Linked DNA regions of Homo sapiens: all the other regions are linked to region 4. The links are contacts of gene promoters, found by promoter capture Hi-C in human tissues and cell types (Jung and others, 2019). All regions are on one chromosome and are shown on one strand. The core of a region is centred on a gene start or on the middle of the fragment in contact, and the rest is flanking DNA. Distances in the headings are between cores, read along the strand shown. Region 1 has its middle 170 kb from the start of LINC01896. Region 2 overlaps ATP9B (ATPase phospholipid transporting 9B (putative)). Region 3 has its middle 240 kb from the start of LINC01896. Region 4 holds the start of SALL3 (spalt like transcription factor 3).

Evidence for each region. The method cuts DNA at HindIII sites, captures the fragments that hold promoters and counts their contacts. A contact is called where the count stands out against the background at its distance.
Region 1: a contact is called between a fragment that was not itself captured here and the fragment with the promoter of SALL3 in region 4, in 5 of the 25 tissues and cell types used here (H1 embryonic stem cells, hippocampus, liver and 2 more).
Region 2: a contact is called between a fragment that was not itself captured here and the fragment with the promoter of SALL3 in region 4, in 5 of the 25 tissues and cell types used here (H1 embryonic stem cells, adrenal gland, dorsolateral prefrontal cortex and 2 more).
Region 3: a fragment that was not itself captured here is called in contact with the fragment with the promoter of SALL3 in region 4 in 2 of the 25 tissues and cell types used here (H1 embryonic stem cells and mesendoderm cells).

What each region holds. Positions count from the first base shown.
Region 1 is chr18:78,807,939-78,810,638 of GRCh38, forward strand. No RefSeq gene overlaps it. Among named protein-coding and RNA genes, the nearest start is that of LINC01896, 170 kb to the right of the region's middle. RefSeq lists enhancers at 1,553-2,054, 2,055-2,554. The HindIII fragment of the contact is 4,117 bases long and covers 1-2,700 here.
Region 2 is chr18:79,211,321-79,214,020 of GRCh38, forward strand. It overlaps ATP9B (ATPase phospholipid transporting 9B (putative)), which reads left to right. Exons shown (of 30, transcript NM_198531.5): 11 at 2,642-2,700. Among named protein-coding and RNA genes, the nearest start is that of ATP9B, 140 kb to the left of the region's middle. The HindIII fragment of the contact is 7,641 bases long and covers 1-2,700 here.
Region 3 is chr18:78,735,426-78,738,125 of GRCh38, forward strand. No RefSeq gene overlaps it. Among named protein-coding and RNA genes, the nearest start is that of LINC01896, 240 kb to the right of the region's middle. The HindIII fragment of the contact is 9,160 bases long and covers 1-2,700 here.
Region 4 is chr18:78,978,465-78,981,164 of GRCh38, forward strand. SALL3 (spalt like transcription factor 3) reads left to right here and starts at 1,354. Exons shown (of 3, transcript NM_171999.4): 1 at 1,354-1,892. The coding sequence starts at 1,811. It overlaps LINC01896 (long intergenic non-protein coding RNA 1896), which reads right to left and starts at 1,227. Exons shown (of 5, transcript NR_187297.1): 1 at 576-1,227; 2 at 1-274. The HindIII fragment of the contact is 21,440 bases long and covers 1-2,700 here.

The DNA.
Region 1 (2,700 bases), core at 71-2,570, 170 kb before region 4:
CCCATCTGTTTAGTGCTGTTGCAGACTTCACTGTTTAAAACATCCCCAAGTGCGGTGCTGGAGCACTGCCTGGTGTAGAGAAAACACGCATGTAGAGAAGCTTCGTTCAGCACAAGCTACAGTGCTGCTGGCCCTGAGTTCAATGCTAATGAATCAACAGTAGATACTAAATAAAGCATCTTCAAACAAAAACACACACTAAACAAAATTATATATTGACTGGCTGATGAAACTGTTGTGACTGGAGGCTCTCAGGAACCTGAACTTGTATTTCCCCTAGGAGCAATGGCTCCAGATTCACTATTTCAGTGTTGGCTACAACTTCATAGAGCAGAATTACCCCCATAACAATTGTTGGTAGTGCGCATTTTACATAGATGCATAAAGACATGTGTTTGTGTTATGCAAACGTGTGGCCTTCGTTACATGGAAGGCCTGTGGCTCAGAGCATGGATGAATTCCTCTGTAGAGATAAGGAAGGAAAGCATGGGTTGAGCTGGGGGCTGAATGGCCGGCCCTGAGCCTCCACCAGGGCCCCTTCCTAACAAGTCACTAAAAAAAGAACAGGAAAAATGCCCTGCAAAGCTTTTAGAACAGTCCTAACTGTCCTCATAAGGATCCTTACACACACACACACACACACACAGCACCTGCAGCTCACTCTAATTCCTTAGACCACTTAGAGATTTCACATACGTGCAAAAGAATATTTGTCCTTTGCCTCAATTTTATTATAGTCCTTAAATTCACTAAAACACCCAAGGTAAGTGTTTCCTTCACTAAAACACCCGAGGTAGGTGTTTCTCAGTGAACTTCCCGGCGCCAGGGTTTTCAGGTGTCTGTGATCCCATAATTGGCAATTAAGTTTGCTTTTGGTAACCAGTACCCGGCCGTGCTGCTTCAGTCCCCAGCAGTTGCACAGATGGATGGATAGATGGATGGATGGCCTCTTCTTAATTTGACCAACCACTTGATTCTTTGGCTTCTCACAGCAAAAATTAAGGTGTCTTCTCTTCAGTAATGAGGACAAAGCTGGGCTTAACAATGATGAAACAGCATTCATGCTGTGCTTATTCTTTAACCATTTAAATGAGATTATTCCTCTTGCTTGAACAAGGACCTGCATTTTAATCCCATCTTCCACAGAGAGCCATCTGATAGCTATTTGGTGCAATGAAGATTTGAACTAAAAAATAAAAATAAATTCTCCATTGTCTATCACTCAAATCTGCAAACTCCAATGGAAAGGCTATTTGGAGAATAGAGTCTTTGGAATTATCCACCCAAAAGGGCTCACTACCAACAGGATTTGTAGTGGTTAGTCTTACTTTGCTTCAGGTTTCCTCAGCTGTTCCCAGTATGAGAATGTGGGCATGAAGAAGTGGTCATTACGGAGAGACAAACTCCCCGAGAGTAACTACGGCAGACAGCAATCCTGATGGCCATCACTGTCACATCAGCAGAAACTCGCTTTTAAGGATCTCACACCACTTCACAAACAGGAGCTGAGACAGCCCACAGAGGACCCCACTCAGAGGACCCCACACTGCACCTAAGATCCTGAGCCTTACCCAATCTCCCAGGACTCGGAATATCACACAAATCACAACGATGCATAGCATACCCCCTTCTTGTGATGGCAGTGGGGCTATTTATAAGGTACCTCAATATTCATCAGCTTGTCAGTGTGACTTCCTGTAAAGCTCTTACTTCTGAGATGAAATTATTTTCTCAATAACTAACAACACAAAGGTAGATAATATGCAGCTAAATCAACCCAACCCAGTAGCGCACATGCACACACCACACACATGCACACACCACACACATGCACGCACACACATGCACACACCACATGCATGCACACAAACATGCACACACCACACGTATGCACTCACCACACACATGCACACACACATGCACACACCACACGTATGCACACACCACACGCATGCACACACACATGCACACACCACACGCATGCACACACATGCACACATACGTGCACATTCACACCACATGCATGCACACACACATGCACACACCACATGCATGCACACACATGCACACACCACACGCAAACACACATGCACACACCACACGCATGCACGCACACACACATGCACGCACACACGCACACACCACATGCATGCACGCACACACACCACACGCATGCACACACACATGCACACACCACACACATGCACACACATGCACACACCACACGCATGCACACACACATGCACACATACGTGCACATTCACACACACCACATGCATGCACACACACAGGTGCACACATATGTGCACATTCACACATACACAGGCCCAGACACTACATGCACACACACACATGTGCATGCATATTCACACACTTATTGGCCAGAGTTGAGTCAGATGCTTTCAAAAATTGTCCTGGCCAGATGTGGTGGCTCCTACCTGCAATCCCAGCACTTTGGGAGGCCAAGGCGGGAGGATCATTTGAGCCCAAGAGTTCAAGACCAGCCTGGGCAACATAGCAAGACTCCGCCTCTACAAAAAATACAAAAATTAGCCAGGCCTGGTGGTGCAGGCCTGTAGTCTCAACTGCTTGGGAGGCTGAGGTGGGAGGATGGCTTGTGCCCAGGAGGTCATGGCTGCAGTGAGCTGTGACTGTGCCACTGCACTCCAGCCTGGATGACAGAGCAAGACCCTATCTCAA
Region 2 (2,700 bases), core at 85-2,584, 230 kb after region 4:
TATATAGCCTGTAGCAAGGAAGGCACATAGTAACTAACAGAGTAATTATTATCCCACTCACATGAAATTGTGATTGAACAGAAGTTGGACATGATAGGGTTGGACTATAGAATGACTTGCAGACCATCCACATAGCAGCCTCTTTGAAGTAGGCTAAGTCTCGAGGGCCCTAGTCATGGGGTCTGTGGAGTGTAGGAGTAAATGTGGTCATATTTTATGCCTCCCTTTTTGGACCCAAAGCATCTGAATATTTAATATTAATTTTTACCTGTAGTCAATTTGAAGTGTGCAGTTATGGATCAGGCAAATGTAATCACTGGCTTTGAAGATTAAGTGCTCCTAAATCTTTTAAAATGTTGTCTTGGGATAAATGAAGTTAAATTTTTGATTTAATGATGAATACTGGACCACCATCATTTTTAGGGTCCTGTTAAGAACTGGTTTGTTGTTGTGGTTGTGGTTTTAATCTACCAACATGGTCCTGAACTCAGGTCTTTCTGATGTAGAAGTTTCTCCAGTTGGAGCGCGTTGTGAGGGAGGTGGATCTTGATTTTACACTGAAAATATGGGTTAAAGTTTTGGAATTCTTCTGTTTAAGTATTTCATTGAGTGAGAAATCTTTGTGACATTTATATTTGTCACATTCAGTCTCCTGTTATCTTATACGACACAAAATGAGTTTATCATACTTTGTTGCCCTCTCATGTCTCATTTCGCAATCCACAGTTAATCCCTTTCCTCTGTTTTGCCTTGTATACTCAGGTTTTACTCAGTCTTTTAGCCTATTGTACTTCATAAGTACATACCCTTTGTGAAAGAGAATGGAAAATGTCCCAAATATTTCTGCACTGATTCTAGTTACGTTAGATATTAAAAAGCATGACACTCAGAAAAATTCATTTAATCTAATTCTAGTAAGTGTTGATTTTTCATGAGAATCAAGTGAGAGAATACTTACGAGAGCCTTTAGCAAACTTTAACAGATTATACAAATATTGTACCAGGACCTCTGTTAAAAATGTATAACATATGCCTTGTTATGTATCACATTGAATTGAGGTACTGTGCATTGTAAGGCCACTCTAGAGTCCACTTTGCTCATCAGTCAACCTGCTTTCAGCTCAACGGTTTCTAGCTTGATTAATTCTTGCAAAGCCTTTTCTGAGATTTGCTCATTCTGCTAATGTTAAAAAATAAGTTAATTTTGCAGTTTGCCTTCTTACATCATTGTGATAATTTAACATTAGTGGGATGTTTATATTTTGATTTAAACTAGATTGGCAAAACAGAAAATACTGATCAGATGATATTTAATATTTAGCTTCACTGATGTGAAGTAATTCTATGATCTCCTTTTGAAAGCTTTTTATAGTATTGTATTATATATTTAATATTTCTCTGCGTAGTAAGTATAGTCATCTAATCTCAGAAGTTTATGTGGATAATAGTAATAAAGACGGCATTTGTGCATCGGGGAGCTTATATTCTAAGTGTGAGCTGGCCTTGCCTTTCATGAACTTTTACAAACTGAAGCCTCACACTTCTCAGTGACACTCAATTAAAAGAGAAATATATATAATCTCCACACATATCCCTGCTGGGGAATACTTCACATCTTCCACCTTCCTAGATTTTCTAGAGAGGAAGGTGTAAGCCATGTGATATGTATAATATGTAACATATCAAGGTTCACGAAAAGCCGGGAGTTCATATCAATCATCTTTACTTCAAAGAGCCTGTCTTATGATGCTCTGCATTTTACATGTTAAGTTAATGTGACATCAGAGTTTTCATATAATTATTATAGTTAATTCTGTAATGGTTGGTAATTGCACATTATGTGTATATACTTTCTCACCTTAATTGTGTTTCTCACCTTCAAAATTTACAAAAAATTAAGGATGAAAATTAGGAATATAAATTATATATGGCTGTAGTTTCAGAAAGAGATTTCCATGGTTTTTAATACTGACATTCTAGAGATAAGTGCCCTTTAGCCTTTGAAATCTATCGGTCATACCAAGGATATTTTATTATTCTTTTCTCTTAAATTTAAAAATTATTATATCTTTTTGACGTGTAAAAGAGAGTAATAGCTTCTAAATGCAAAGTCAAATACCGTTTTTTATAATATTTCTATTATTTTAATTGTACACATTTTGAAATATTAGCAAAGGCTGTCACTGATATTTAGTAATACTTTGATCTTTACAGTGGAAATACACTAAAAGAAAGTGGTTCATCTGGTACCATCTTTATTTGAAGGTCAAAGGACAAGTTTGATTAGTTAAGGATATAGCCTCTTAATTGACCTTCAGTGATAGAACCACCATTTTAGTAGACAGTAGTGAAAGGCCATTGTCATTATCTCTATTGTCAGTGAAAAGAATATTAGTACGTTTCCTAATGTTATATGTGGGTACATTTGTATTGCTTAACAAATCATTTGACTTTTTCAAAGTCCATTTTTAAAGTTGAGATTAGATTTTCTTGAATTAGCCAAATTAAATACACTGTTGGATAAATTTATATAAAATCAAATAGTGTGATAATACTTTCCATCAAAACAATTAATTAGAAAGTGTTATCTTTTACTCATCTTTAAAGTATTTCTACAAGGACCACTTTCATGTTTTTGCAGGTACTGTAATAGGTGTTGTCATTTATACCGGAAAAGAGACTCGAAGTGTAATGAACACA
Region 3 (2,700 bases), core at 189-2,688, 240 kb before region 4:
ACGTGGCGAGGTGTGGAATCACCCTCCAGCAGAGCTGCCCCTGGCGGATGTCTTCGTTTCTCTTTTTAAGTGTGAATTCAGGAACCAAGGCATCCTGTGATTTCCTGCGGTGATTGAGCAGTCATGCTGCAGCTGACGCAGGACCGGCTTCTGAGGAGCAATGAATGCCCGTGGCCTCGGGTCTCACAGCCTTCCAGGGCCCCTGCTCCCTCCGCAGTGCACACCGTGGACGCGTCGCCTGGGAATGGGCTGGCACCAGCACACGTGGCCCGGGCTCTGTGGCCTGGGTGCCAGGACCCTCTGGGGAATGTGGGTGATCTGGGGGCCCTGGGGGATGTTTTCAAATGCAGACTCCCGGGCTTACAGAATCAGAATCTCTAGGAGTGAGGAGCAGGGCCTGCCTGGAATGAGAACGCCACAAGGAAACATTTTTATCCTCGGTGTGAGCCCGGCCTCGCCTCCCTGGTCACAAGCAAAGCCAGAGGGAAGCAGCGAATATCTGTGGACACCTGCTCTGCGCCGGGCCGCCCGCACGGCTCCAGGGCAAGCTCGGACCTACTCTGTGAGCCGTCATTTTGCCCCATTGTAGACAAGGAAGCCGAGGCCTCCGGGCAGCCGTCGTGGGTAAATATTCGATCCCAGCTCTGAGTCCTGATGTGCGGTGGTTTCCAGTTTCCAAGGGGTCCCCGTCACGGCCGATTCCAAGGTAGCAAGCAGACAGCACTGACGGGGTTAGGAAGAGACGGAGTGGGAACAACACGGCGGCGTTCCCTCCCCGTGAGCGTGAAGCGCGGTCGATGCCCCGCAACGGTGCGAGGTGAGCAGTTTCCATGTTTATCACCGTCGTGTTTAATAGAAGTTATTGCTAATTATAAGTAAGTCCACATAATTTGTTATGCATACATAGCACATATATATATATATATATAAATTGTATGTTTAAATGATTTGATCTTTAATAGTGACAGTGTTTCATAACCGGCTCATGAAATTCCTGAAAACGCATCACTGGGCTCCCATGGGCCTGCAAGGACGCAGGCCCCAGCACACCTCTGCGAGACAGACAGCCCGTCCGAGGTTGCCCGGGTGAGTGTGGAGATCTGGGCTGTAAACTCAGGTCTGTGTGATTCTGCTCTTGACCTCCACTGCTGACATGAGAGCTGAAAACTGCTAGGATGTTGGGTCTGATAGGAATATTAAGTGATATGCTAGTCAAGCCTCGTGTAACAAATGAGGAAACAGAGACCAACGGAAATAAGATGACTTGGAAAGTCACAGAATCAGCTCAGAACAGAGCCAGGCCTGGTCGTCCCTTCCTCCTAGGCCAGTCGCCACCTGACCGAGATTGGAGATAAAAGGTAAACAGGGAAGAAAGTCAGAGTAAACGATACCCTAGGCAATGCACCTAGCTATAGGGAGAGTGGGGTTTCCAATTGCACAAGTTATAATAATTATTTAAAAGGATGTGGGCAAAATAATTGCAATAACAACAAAACAATAATAATACCACTTTGCACAGATTGCTTTCAGAGTCACAAAGCTGTCTTATCTCATTTACTCCTCTAAACTCTGAGAGATCTGTGGCCACCCCACACAAAAATCAGACCAGAGGCAGAGAACCCAGCTGACGTATCCAAAGTGGTAGATTTGGGGTTTGACCTCGAGTTTGTAAGACCTTGTTACCACGCATTTCAGGGACATCCCCCCGCACCCTAAGAGTGATGGACATGGGAGCCTCCGGTCTATTTGTGATCCCAGATTTGCCACACCCCCAGGAGTGCACGGTCTGATACTGAGCAGGAGTGCCTGTCAGATAAACTGGGAAAGGCAGGCCTTTCTGTGGGCTTCTGCTCAAGACAGGGGGCCTCCCCAGAAAATGACCAACTCTAGAACAGAGTCAAATCCTGCCCTGGAAGGAAGGCATCCCAGTGCTTCTGGTTACCAGCCACGGAAAGGTGGAGACAGCAGTGAGTGATCAGTGACAAGGTCTTGTGGGGTGACCTCAGTGCACACAGAGCTGGGAAGAGCATTGCCTTGCACTTACCCTGAGCGCAAGGGGGATCCGAAACGCTAGAGAGTAGAATTGTCTTAGGTAGGGGGAAGAGGAGCTGGTCGAAAGTCAGCATCACGTGGCGTGGGGCTGCCGTGGGGCCCTGAGCTCAGACATAACACACCTCTGACATGGAGGCCAGGCCAGCACTGTTCTCCGAGGACGTCAGGTCTGAAATAAATAGTATCTGCACTCTCTTCTCCCAGAGACAGGGCTTTTCACCCTGTGGCCAGGACGCTATACTCAAGTCCTGTCCAACAGCTGGGTCTGCAGGAATTACACCTGAGCCAGGCCCATGAGCAGCTCATTGAAGAAAGGGCCCTGGGGTCTGTGTGTGCAATGGAGGGGACAAGAGAGCTTCCTAAGGTGACCCACACTCAAATTCTCCTGCACACCTGAGAAAGCCTTCTCATTACTAGGCTGCTGCAACCCTTTCTACAGAAAGAACTTGCCTATGGTTTGGACACCATGCTTCACTTGGCAGCTGTTTCTTAACTGGAATTGACAGATCGGTGATCCTGCTTACACAGTAGTCTCTTGGCAAAAGCACAGGATCTGGAACTGTGTTTGCTTCAATCATTTCCCTTGACATTTGTCTGCTCTGGGGAAAGTAGTCACACTAAGGTGCTGGAAAGGGTGCTGGGTTGTGG
Region 4 (2,700 bases), core at 104-2,603:
AATTAAAGGCAGGCGGAAGAACGCGGGCTGGGAAGCAAGCGGGAAGATTCTAGAATGGAAGGGAGCCCGCCGAGCGCCGCGAGCCGCGCCAGGCCGGGTCCGATGGAGCAGGCGGGGATTCCTCCCCCAGGCGGACCCCCGCCACCAGCCCTGCCGGGAGCTCGCGGCCTGCGGAGCGCCCGGGCTGGCCGCTCACCGCCCGCTTCCCCCAGCGAACGACTCGGGGAAGCTCCAGGAGGCCATCTGTGCTGACGGTTCACACCAGACAGGACCACTTGCAAGGACAAAAATAAGAAATTTAGGAAACGAAAAAAGACGTACTGGGGCGAGGGGCGCGGGCGCGGCGACGACGGGGCCGGGGGCACATCCTGGCGGCCGCTCGGGGAGAGAGGACACGCGCGGGAAGGAGCGCGGCGGGTGCACGGCCGCGGGTGGGAGTACGCGCCTGTGCGCGCGGGGCGAGGGCGAGGGCGCGTGCGTGTGACCGCGGGGAGGGGGCGGGCGCGTGTGCGGGGAGCGCGCCGCGCCAGGGGCCGAGTGTGTGGGGCCGATCCAGAAGTGCGCAGCCCCCTCACCTGGCCCCCGTGTCATCCCCGAAATCCCGGGAAAGGGTGGGCCGCGCGCGGGAGTTTGGTGGAGTTGGAACTTTCGGTCGCGCTCGCTGCCCACTCCGCTGGCGCCCGGTGGCCCGTGGTGAAGGGGGACTAGGGTGGGGAACACCGGGGCCCTGCGGTCCCCTCCCTTTCCTGTATTTAAGAAGCCGCCGGCGGCGCAGAGGCCCAGGCGGGCTGGCGCGGGGGCGAGGCGGCCCGGTGGCAGCAGCGGGCGGGGCGGGCGCTCCGGAGTCGGTGGGGCCCGCGGGTTGGGGGGCGGGGAGAGGGGGGAGTGGAAGGGAGGGGGAACGCAGGGGAGGGAGAGGAGGGGAGGAGCCGCGCGGCCCGCGCCGCTTCCGAACCGGAAAGTTGGTCTTGCCGAAGTCCTGCCACCCCGGCGTGCGCACTCCGCTCCGCTCCGGCCGCGAGCCTCCGAGCCCGGCCGGCCGCCGGGGGAAGCCCGCGGAGGGGACGCGGGGCCGGGCGAGAAGGTCCGGAGAGCGGGGGGCACCTGAGCCCGGGCGGGCCCGCCGCGCTGAGCGGCGCTGAGAGCCGCGGCGGAGCAGCGAAGGCGGCCGGCCGACCCCGCGCGCCCGGAACAGGAGGCGCGGCGCCCGAGCGGCCCGGGCGAGACAAAGGCGCCGGGTCGGAGCCCTGCCCGCGGCCGCTCGCTCCGGGAGGGGCCGCCCGGCGGCGGCGGCGGGGGGGGCGCGGGCGGCGGCGCAGACACTCTATAAAGGGGCGAGCCCGGCGCGCCGGCGGAGACGGCGCCGCGCGGACGCCGCCAAAGTTTGCTGCCTGCGCCCTGCGGAGGGACGGCCACCGCGGCCCGCGCCGCACCCGGGCCCCGCCACAGCCGCACCCGGGGCGGCCGAGGAGCGCGGCGCCGGAGCCCGCGATGTGAGGCGGCGCCGGGCAGCGCGCGCCCCGGTCCCGAGGCGCCGCGGCCCCCTCCTCGTCGGCGCGGCCGCTAATTGCGAGCGCGGCCTCATTTGCATAGGCCGCCGGAGTCCGCTGGAGCCCGGCCAATCGGCGCGGCCCTCCGCTAATGGCCATGCATTATTCACCAGCCTAATTGCTCAGCCCCATGCGCGGCCCGCGCAGCCGCCGCCGCCCCGCGCCCCGCGCCGCGCGCCCGCCAGGCCGCCCCGCGCCGTCCCCGCCGGCCGCCCCGCTGATGCCGCTGCCCCGCGCGGGGCCCGAGCGCCGCTAGCAGCATGTCTCGGCGCAAGCAGGCCAAGCCCCAGCACCTCAAGTCGGACGAGGAGCTGCTGCCGCCTGACGGGGCTCCCGAGCACGGTGAGGGCCGGGGCTGCGGGGTGGCCGGGGGGTCTGGGGCTGCCCGTCCGGGCTGGGGAAGCGCGTGCGGCGGGAGCGGATGCGCGCGTCCGGGAGCGGGAGAAAGTTCCCTGCTTCCTGCGGGCAAGCGTCCGCCCCGCGCCAGGCCGGCCGCGGGGCCCCGGGTACTTCGCCGGAGCGCGCGCGGCCGCCGAGAGAGTTGTGGGCGAAGTAAACTTGGCTCCTCTCCTCGGAGTCGGGGAGCTGCCCGCGAAGGGCGCCGAGGCCGCGGCCGGCTCGAGGACGGCTCGGAGGCCGGGGCGGGAGGGAGTCCACGGTGCCTCCGCCGCCGCGCCGCCCCCCAGGGTCTCTGCGCCAGGACGCTGAGGCCGGCGGCGGCGGGGAAGGCGACCGCAGCCCACCTACCGCTGGACGCGGGTTGGGGACCCCGCCGCCCGGCCAGCTTTGTTCGGGGGCCCGCGGCCCCTCCCGGGCCCCCGCACCGCCTCGGGTGACCCGCGGTGTCCCAGCGCGTTGACGCAGCCTGTGATCCCTCGCGAGGCGAGGAGAAGGTCGGGGGCTTGGCTCTGCCTAATGGCCGCCCGGGGAATTAAGCTGGGGGTGAGCGCAGCGGCGGCGGCCTGGGCCTGGCCCCTGCTCGCGGCGTGTTTCCGGGGCGTTCGTTGCAGCGTCTGCGCGGGCCTTTTCTCTCCCGTCTTTTTGGATCCGCCGAGGCCGGGCGCTGGAGACCTCGGCTTTGCAGTCATTTCGCTGGTAGGAGCGTCCTCTTCGAAACATCCAAGAGCAAAGGGCAGGCGCCGCGAAAGTT